3 separate regions of the Homo sapiens genome follow, and all the other regions are linked to region 2. Evidence: promoter capture Hi-C in human tissues and cell types (Jung and others, 2019). All regions are on one chromosome and are shown on one strand. Each heading gives the region's core, a stretch centred on a gene start or on the middle of the fragment in contact. The rest is flanking DNA. Distances are from core to core; before and after follow the strand shown. Region 1 overlaps ZNF784 (zinc finger protein 784). Region 2 holds the start of SYT5 (synaptotagmin 5). Region 3 holds the start of ISOC2 (isochorismatase domain containing 2).

Region 1 (2,700 bases), core at 8-2,507, 440 kb after region 2:
GTAATCCCAGCTACTCAGGAGGCTGAGGCAGGAGAATCACTTGAACTCAGGAGGCAGAGATTGCAGTGAGCTGAGATCGCACCACTGCATCCAGCCTGGGTGACAGAGTGAGACTCCATCTCAACAAATAAATAATTTGGACTTCAGTCCCAGAGTACTTCAGTACAGAAACTTGAAGATGAGGCCAGGTGCAGTGGCTCATGCCTGTAATCCCAGTACTTTGGGAGCCCAAGGCGAGCAGATCACCTGAGGTCAGGAGTTCGAGACCAGTCTGGCCAACATGGTGAACCATCCTTTCTACTAAAAGTACAAAAATTAGCTGGGCGTGATGGCAGGTGCCTGTAATCCCAGCTACTCGGGAGGCTGAGGCAGGAGAATCACTTGAACCCAGGAGGTGGAGGTTGCAGTGAGCTGAGATTGCGCCACTGCACTCCGGCCTAGGCGACAAGAGCGAGATTCCATCTCAAAAAAAAAAAAAAAAAAAAAAAAGGAAAAAAAGAAACTTGAAGATGAAACTAGGTAAGAGCGCTGCTTGGGTGAGTCCTGTGTGACCCATGGGAGAGCAGCTACCCTGTGTGGCTCCATGTTCTAATGCTGAAGACCCAGCATGAGACAGACGTTGTGCCAGTGCCCCCAGGGTTCAGGGTTCAGCAGTAACATGGAAATGGAGCCTCACAGTGTAAGGGACTTGGAAGTATCACTAGGGCTTGAGGGAGCACAGAGGAGTCACCTGTCAGAGTGGAAGGGGGGCTAGAAAAGCTTCTTGGGGAGAAGGTGATCCCTGAACGATGACATAAACCAACTGGAGTTTTCCAGGTAAAGAAGTGGCAAAGAGGCCGGGCACGGTGGCTCATGCCTGTAATCCTAGCACTTTGGGAGGCCGAGGCAGGTGGATCACGAGGTCAGGAGCTCCAGACCATCCTGGCTAACACGGTGAAACCCTGTCTCTACTAAAAATACAAAAAATCAGCCGGGTGTGGTGGTGGGAGCAGGTGGCAGGCGCCTGTAGTCCCAGCTACACGGGAGGCTGAGGCAGGAGAATGGCATGAACCCAGAAGGCGGAGCTTGCAGTGAGCCGAGATCATGCCACTGCACTCCATCCTGGGCGACAGAGCAAGGCTCTGTCTCAAAAAAATAAATAAATAAGAAAAAAAAAAAAAAAAAGAAGTGGCAAAGATTTCCAGGCGGAGAGTTTAGTGTGTTGAACTAAACCCTGCTATTCTGGAGCATTTAAGACAGATTAGTATGGCTGGAGGTTGGGTTCCTGGGGGCTAAACCCTGAAGGGTCTTGAATTCCAAACTGTGGGGCTTGGGTGATTTTATAGGCTAGAGGCTGGAAACTGGCAGCTGCAAGGCCGAATATGACCACTAACACATTTTTGTTTAGTCTGTGCATTTTTTAAAAAGTTTGACTTGACTGCCAACATTGGGAAATCAAAAGATTTTACATAATGTGAACTAATGGAACTTCTGAAAGAAACTGGAAGATGTGGCAACCCAATCTGTGTTCCGGAGCTGAGCAGCCATTACCCTCTTCTGAAGAGGCACTCTCCAATTTGTTGAATACCAATTCTGAGACCTGGTGGCAATCGCCATTATTTCATGTTGCTGATATTTTCCCCTTGAACCTGGCCGTCTTGCTCGTGTATTTACATTTTCACCCAGCTCCTGTAGGCATTCACATTTCCAAATCGTCTCAAAGCCACAAGGAGCTGTGTCTTGGTGACAAGGATCTGCATGGATGCCATATGGAGAATGAAGAGGGCAGGTGGCCGGGTGCAGTGGCTCACGCCTGTAATCCCAACACTTTGGGAGGCCGAGGCGAGTAGATCACCTGAGGTAAGGAATTTGAGACCAGCCTGGCCAACATGATGAAACCCCATCTCTACTAAAAATACAAAAATGAACTGAGCGTGATGGCGCCCACCTGTAATCCTAGCTACTCAGGAGGCTGAGGCAGAAGTGCTTGAATCCAGGAGGCAGAGGTTGCAGTGAGCAGAGATTGTGCCATTGGACTCCAGCCTGGGCAACAAGAGCAAAACTCCATCTCAAAAAAAAAAAAAAAAAAAAAAAAAAAAAAAAAAAAAAAAAAAAATGCAGGCACTGGACTGCTGTGCAGTTGTCTGTGTGTGAGACCACTGTTGGTCTACAAGTGTAGTGATGCCGAAAACACGTTCCAGTTCCAAAGATATTAACTGGCTCAACTGAGGGAAACTGATAAGGGACTGGACATAAGAATGAGGATGAAGAAGGTTTAAACCTGCCCAGGTATCCAGCTTGGGTGGTGGTGCCAATGACATCAGAAGCATGGAGGTTTCTTTGAGGAAAATGGAATGAGTTCTGTTCACATTGTGAGTTGCCTGTGAGTTATCTCATGGGGCCCACTGGGTGAACAGAAAGGTGTGCAAATCAGAGGCTCTCACTCAACAAGCATGCAAAGCATGTTGAGTGTGCTTTTGCCAAACTTCCCTGACCCCCCTCTCCTACAGCTGAACCACATAACACGTAACCACAGTGGGGCCTACTCACCCCCCATTCTGATGATGGGGAAACAGAAGCTTGGAGGAAGAGATGATGCAACTGACTGCTGGTGGCAAAACCATGGTGAGGCCCCTCCTCCCCCAACTCCCCAAAGCGGACAATCCGAATACAAGACCGACAGAGAAGCCCTTCAGAAGGTCCTTTAATAGGAACAGAACT
Region 2 (2,700 bases), core at 38-2,537:
CGGGCGATGGAGGCCCCGGGGTTGGGGGCTCCGGGAACATGGTGGCGGGGTCCTGGAGTCTTTTCTGCAGAGACACTCAAGCACCCTAGTCCCCCATTCCCACCCCAGACGTCCTTTGAGCCCCACGCACAACAAAGAACTCCAACTCCCATGAGGCCTTTGCGCGAACAGCCGCGCAGAAACCGGACAGCCACCGCGAGTCATGCTGGGAGTTGTAGTATCAGCCTCCCCGCACTTGAGAGGGGGTGTCCAGGACCTAGTTCCATCCTAAAGGGATACCCTCTTCCTCCACGGCCCCACAGGCATCCCGCTGACTTCTGCCTCGTCCTCGCCCCTCCGCAGGGTCTGAACCGGAAGCGGGCGAAGGCAGACGTGGGAACCAGCAGACCGCGTTGCCCAGAGCAACAGCCGGGCTCCTCTCAAGCGGGGTGAGAGCAAAGCTGGTTGCCCGGGCAACGGGTTGTTGCCAGGACAACGGGCGGGGCTGACGCACAGACGCGGAGTCCCGGCGGGGCAGGCTCGCTCCGGGGCCCACCGGTGCCTGGGAACCCCCCAATAGCCCGACTGGGATCCTGAGGTCCCGCGAGGTGGGGAGCGGGCAGCCTGTGGTCCGAGCGCCCACAGCCGACTGCTCCCTCCGCACCTGGTCCTGGGAGCTGAGACGCAGGTTCCCTCTTCCCTCTCCCCAATTTTGCTGGAGGGCGGGTCGGGGGCTGCCCGGTGCCTGTGCTGAGCCCCCTCATCCTTCTTGGCCTGTTGGTCTCTCCACGCATCCGTGCTGCTCTCGTGACCGCCTCGGTCTCCACGCTGCCTCTTGACCCCACATAGGCGTCTTCCCTGTGTCTGCCTCCCCAACCCGCCTGTCTCTCTTCCCTATCGCCTGGCCTCTGTCTCCAGGGTCTCTCCCTCTCCCCTCCGCCTGCGCCCCACTCCCCGCCCTCGGCTCTTTGTCTTCTCCATACCTGTCTCGCGTCCCCAGATCCCTGTCTCTCCGCTTCAGGCTGCTGCCCTCCCTCTGGTTGTCTCCCCAGTGCCCCAGCCCCCACTCGCACACCCCTTTCCTCTAGGGATGCGGATGCGGATGGGCTGAGGGCGGGGGTCCCAGCAGCTCCTACCTGCTCGGCGGCTGGACGGGACACTCCCGGGAGACGCCGAGGCGCCAGCCCCGCCCGGACCCCACCCCCTGCACGTGGGCGGTGGCGCTGTCCCGGGTGCTGATCGCGGAGCTCTCCGGGGCGGGGGAGCCGCGGAGCGGAGCAGGATCCCGTGCGCGCGTGTGTGCCCGTGTGCGTGTGCGCGCGTGTGTGGTGTGTATTGTGTGTGCCCGTATTTGGTCTCGGGTAGGCGGAAAGCCCTGCCCCGCCCCTCCTCCCGCCTCCACCCGGGAACCTCGATGACGCCCACAGATGTTTATCCTGGTGCTTTAGCATTTTCTGCCTTCTGGTCCAGTCGTTGGCCGTCCAGACCACTCCACTCCTCCCGCCCCAACACACACGACACACACCCTGTATAGCCCAAAGAACGGCATGCCAGGATACTCAGTCCTAGGACCTAGGAGACCCCAGACCCCCATTGGAGACCCAGACTCTGCAGGGTTCAGCATCAAAGTCCCCAGCTATCAGCCCCCAGACATCGCCCTCTAAGTTCCCCTAACACCAGTCCCAGGAGGCGGCCAGTGCGGTGGCTCATACCTGTAACCTCAGCACTTTGGGAGGCCGAAGCAGGAGGAATGCTTGAGCCCAGGAGCTGGAGACCAGCCTGGGCAACATAGCAAAATCCCGTCTCTACAAAAATGAGCCAGCGTGGTGGTGCGCACTTGTGATGGCAGCTACTCTAGAGGCTGAGGTGGGAAGATCACCTGGGCCCAGGAGGTCAAGGCTGCAGTGAGCCACTGCACTCCAGTCTGGGCAACAGAGCAAGACCATGTCTCAAAAACAAAAACAAAAACAGAACAAAACAACAACAACAACAACAGAGAAGAGTAAAAGAAAAGCTCAGAAGGCAAGTCCCCAAGCACCTAGCTCCAGCGAGCCCTGTCCATACTGCCCAGACCCTGGACACAGACGTCTGGACACTGCCTTCTCTGAGAGACTCAACCACCCAAACCTACATTTTTTCATGTGCAAATGTGTGGGTCCCTCTAGTCCCCTCCTGGACGTTCGCCTCGATCCCTAGATACCAGGAACCCATCCCTACTCCCAATCCAATATTATTTCCAGACCCAGAAATCCATGGGACAACTGTCTCTGGGGAGAACAGTGATTTAATAAATTATGGGATAGAAGGAAAAATACATGTGGATGGTGGGGTGCAGAGAGACCTTGGGCACAGGGACTCCCTCCGACCCCAGATTATAGAAGACTGATTTGGTTTCTGAAGTAAAATCAAGGCAGGATCCTTCCTGCCTTTGGTCCTCAAGTAGCCAGAACTCCAGACCCAAATTCCTTCCTGCCTCAGAATCCAGGCCCCAGCCTGTTTCTTTCTGCATCCTGGAAAGACCTAGGGAATCCAAGCTATCATCCCTCTCCTCCTTCAGGGAACCAGGAATCCAGATCCCCAGCTCCCATAGGACTCATCTGAAGCCCACCAGACCACTCTCTCCTGGGGAAACCAGAGTTTGGGATACCAGCCCCCTCCTCCCACAGCACCCAGGAGTCTGGGAGCCCAGCCCTCTGCTCTTCCAGGAATCTGGGCTCAAGT
Region 3 (2,902 bases), core at 213-2,712, 280 kb after region 2:
CCATAACTATACTCTGTTATTCCTCGCAGCCAGAAAAAATTACGAGGAAGCTCTTTAAGTAACAATACGAAAACATGTTTGAGAGAAGTGAAAAAGAAGCAGAACAGTGTGTATGGAATGCTCCTTTTTGTGCCAAAGAAAAAAGGGAGAGGAAAATGTGTCTGTGTTGCCTATATCTATATCTGCTATCTCTGGCAAACAAGCAAGAAACGGGAGACTCAGGCGGGTGAACCAGGCACCGGGGAAGTCTGTAGGAGCCTTTTCACTGGGTCCTATTCTGTTTCTTCTGAATTCTGGACAATGTGCAACAAGTTGTCTAGTCAATACTATATACAATAAAGGGTTGGCATAAAGCCAAAACCCGGCAAAACTGATCTATGGCGTCAGAAGCCAGGACAGTGACTGCCCTTGGACCACAGTGATGGAAACGACGACGGCGGGAGATCCTGGGATGTGGCGCATGTTTGACTTTTTTCTTTGGATACTTGTTTACACCAGGGTGCTCCCTTTATAAATATTTATTTAAGCTGTGTATTTGCAAACCGTTCGATTTTCTGCGTTTGTGGTATTATTCCAGAAAAAGTGTTCAAAATGCAAAATACAAAGATGGCTTCAGGCCCCCGCCGTGCGGTTGAACTGGAGGCAAAAGGCCAGAGAGCAGGAGGTCGGCGCTGGGGCCCAGTGGGACAGGGGAGAGTCAGGAAGGGGCAGCTGGGACGGTGGGGAAAGTCGGGGAGAAAGGCCCCCAGTTTCTGGTCGAGCGAGGGGCATGATCTGAAGATTCATAGGGGATCCCGGGGAGGGGAACTGGTTTTTGGGAGATGAAAAATTGGGGTGAGGGTGGGTGTGTGAGAGAGAGAGATGTGAAGGGGAGGTCTGGGCTGGAGAGGGTTGGGCGTGTCCTGCGGAACGAGGAGAGATTCAGCCTGGGTGGAGGGTACCCAAGGCCAAAGGGGGCGTGGCTGGAGGTGGGCGGCAACAGGGGGCGGGGTAGGGCCGTTGATTTCCCCACCCGGTCTCGGAAACCCGGCCTTGGAGCCCGGACTTCCTGGCTGTGTGACCTTGGGCAAGTTTCTCTTTGTCTTAGCCTCAGTTTTCTCGTCGGAGAAATGGGGATTAAACCTGCCCACCCCCCAGCGCTGTTACAGAGGCGGCAGGCGCGACCCGGGGACGCTTCCAATCTCTGGCCAGCCAATTCTGGCGGGGCCAGGTGGAGTCCTCCTTCTGGTCCTGTGACCTTGGCCCGGGACGCCCAGGCAGAGCCTCAGTTTCCCCATCTGCTAGGCGGTAAGGTCGGTCTCCAAATAGCGCCAGCAGCGAGAGAGGACTTACCCGGAAGGTGCCGGGTTCGAGCCCGGAACGGCCCCTCTGCAGGTGAGGCGGGGGCACCCTCACCTCTCGGCTCTCGGACGGCCACCGCTGAGGCCTCTTGCGGGCTTCCCAGGGCTGGTTACCGTTTCGTTAGGGCTGGACACGTGGCCCACCCCCTGCACCGTCCGTTTTCCGCCCACTTGGGCCCAGCCGTCCAATCGACACTCATCATGCTCTGCCTCGCCGCTCTCTCCGGCCAATCCGCATGTGCCACTGCCTCTGCCCGCAATCGGCGCTCACCAACTCACCCCGCCCCCTGCCTCTCAACCAATCCGCATATGCAGCTGCTTTGCTCCCGCCCCAGGGGGGGCGGTGCCGGCAAGGCTGTCAGTCTCAAGAAAATGATTAGCTCGCAAAGGCGCCGTGGGGGCGGGGCAGCAGGTCGTTCTGCCAATGGAGAGCCGTAGAGGGCGTGAGTGGCGGCCGACGGGGCGGAGTCGCGCGGTGGTCTCCGAAGGCTCAGACTCTGGCTGGAGAGAGGGCGTCTCGGCCGGCCCCATTGCACAGAGCAGACCGCCGAGGCCGGGAGAGAGAGAGAGGGGTCTTACCTAGAGTAGAGGCATGTCTGCGGTTCGAAACCTGGCCCTCTCTCAAGAAACGGAGGCTTACAAAGATACCCAAGCACTTTCCAGGAAGGGGCTGGCTGAGGGAGCGATCAAGTGAGGAATTTGACGCCCCCCTGTCCTTTGCGCTCTGTGCTGCCTCAGTTTCCCCATCTGTACAGCACCTGCCTCCTCGGGTGGTGTTTAGAATAATTTAGACTCTGTGCTTGGAAATGGAGGTTGAGAGAAAGAGAGAATTTCCTATCTGTCTTGGAATAAATCCAAACTCCTCCCAATTCATGGTCGGCCTTCCTGGTCCGTGCAGACCTCGCCTCTCACCACTCCCCCTGCTCACTCCGCTCCAGCCACAGGGGTCTCCTCTTGCTCTTCCCTCAATGTCCCACCGCAGGGCCTTTGCACGTGTGCTGCCTCAGCCTGGAATCCTAGGACTCCCCATGGCCCAACCTTCCAGGCTTTCAAAGCCTTTCCTGACCACCTGGTGTCAGGTAGCCCTTCCATCAGGTCGCTGTTTTTAATTTTTTTGAAACATCAAAAAAAAGAAAAAAATTGCTCTATCACCCAGGCTGGAGTACCATGGTACGATCACAGCTTGCTGCAGCCTCAACCTCCCGGGCTCAAGCGATCCTCCCACCTCAGCCTCCTGAGTAGCTGGGACCACAGGTATGCGCCACCACACCTGACTAATTTTTTAATTTTTTTGTAAAGATGGAGGTCTCACTCTGTTGCCCAGGCTGGTTTTGAACTCCTGGGCTCAAGTGATCCGCCTGCCTTGGCCTCCCAGAGTGCTGCGATTACAGGTGTGAGCCGCCGCACCCGGCCTTGTGTTTTATTTTCTTTTCAGCACTAACTCCAATCTGAATTGGAAATGAATCTTGCTTTTTGAAAAATGCATGGATATACTCTTTTATTGTCTGTTCCCCGCCAAAACACACACATGCACACAGAACAGGGAGCTCCCTGAGGCAGGG

The links. Contacts are between HindIII fragments. The study calls those that stand out against the background at their distance.
Region 1: a fragment that was not itself captured here is called in contact with the fragment with the promoter of SYT5 in region 2 in 2 of the 25 tissues and cell types used here (dorsolateral prefrontal cortex and lymphoblastoid cells).
Region 3: the fragment with the promoter of ISOC2 here is called in contact with the fragment with the promoter of SYT5 in region 2 in 1 of the 25 tissues and cell types used here (small bowel).

What each region holds. Positions count from the first base shown.
Region 1 is chr19:55,618,075-55,620,774 of GRCh38, forward strand. ZNF784 (zinc finger protein 784) reads right to left here. Exons shown (of 2, transcript NM_203374.2): 2 at 2,667-2,700. Among named protein-coding and RNA genes, the nearest start is that of ZNF784, 5.1 kb to the right of the region's middle. The HindIII fragment of the contact is 5,055 bases long and covers 1-2,700 here.
Region 2 is chr19:55,179,002-55,181,701 of GRCh38, forward strand. SYT5 (synaptotagmin 5) reads right to left here and starts at 1,288. Exons shown (of 9, transcript NM_003180.3): 1 at 1,116-1,288; 2 at 1-85. The coding sequence starts at 40. PTPRH (protein tyrosine phosphatase receptor type H) reads right to left here. Exons shown (of 20, transcript NM_002842.5): 20 at 2,246-2,700. RefSeq lists an enhancer at 754-833 and silencers at 821-1,233, 1,114-1,303. The HindIII fragment of the contact is 16,640 bases long and covers 1-2,700 here.
Region 3 is chr19:55,460,180-55,463,081 of GRCh38, forward strand. ISOC2 (isochorismatase domain containing 2) reads right to left here and starts at 1,463. Exons shown (of 6, transcript NM_001136201.2): 1 at 1,333-1,463. It overlaps C19orf85 (chromosome 19 open reading frame 85), which reads right to left. Exons shown (of 2, transcript NM_001386794.1): 2 at 2,822-2,902. RefSeq lists an enhancer at 2,848-2,902. The HindIII fragment of the contact is 25,257 bases long and covers 1-2,902 here.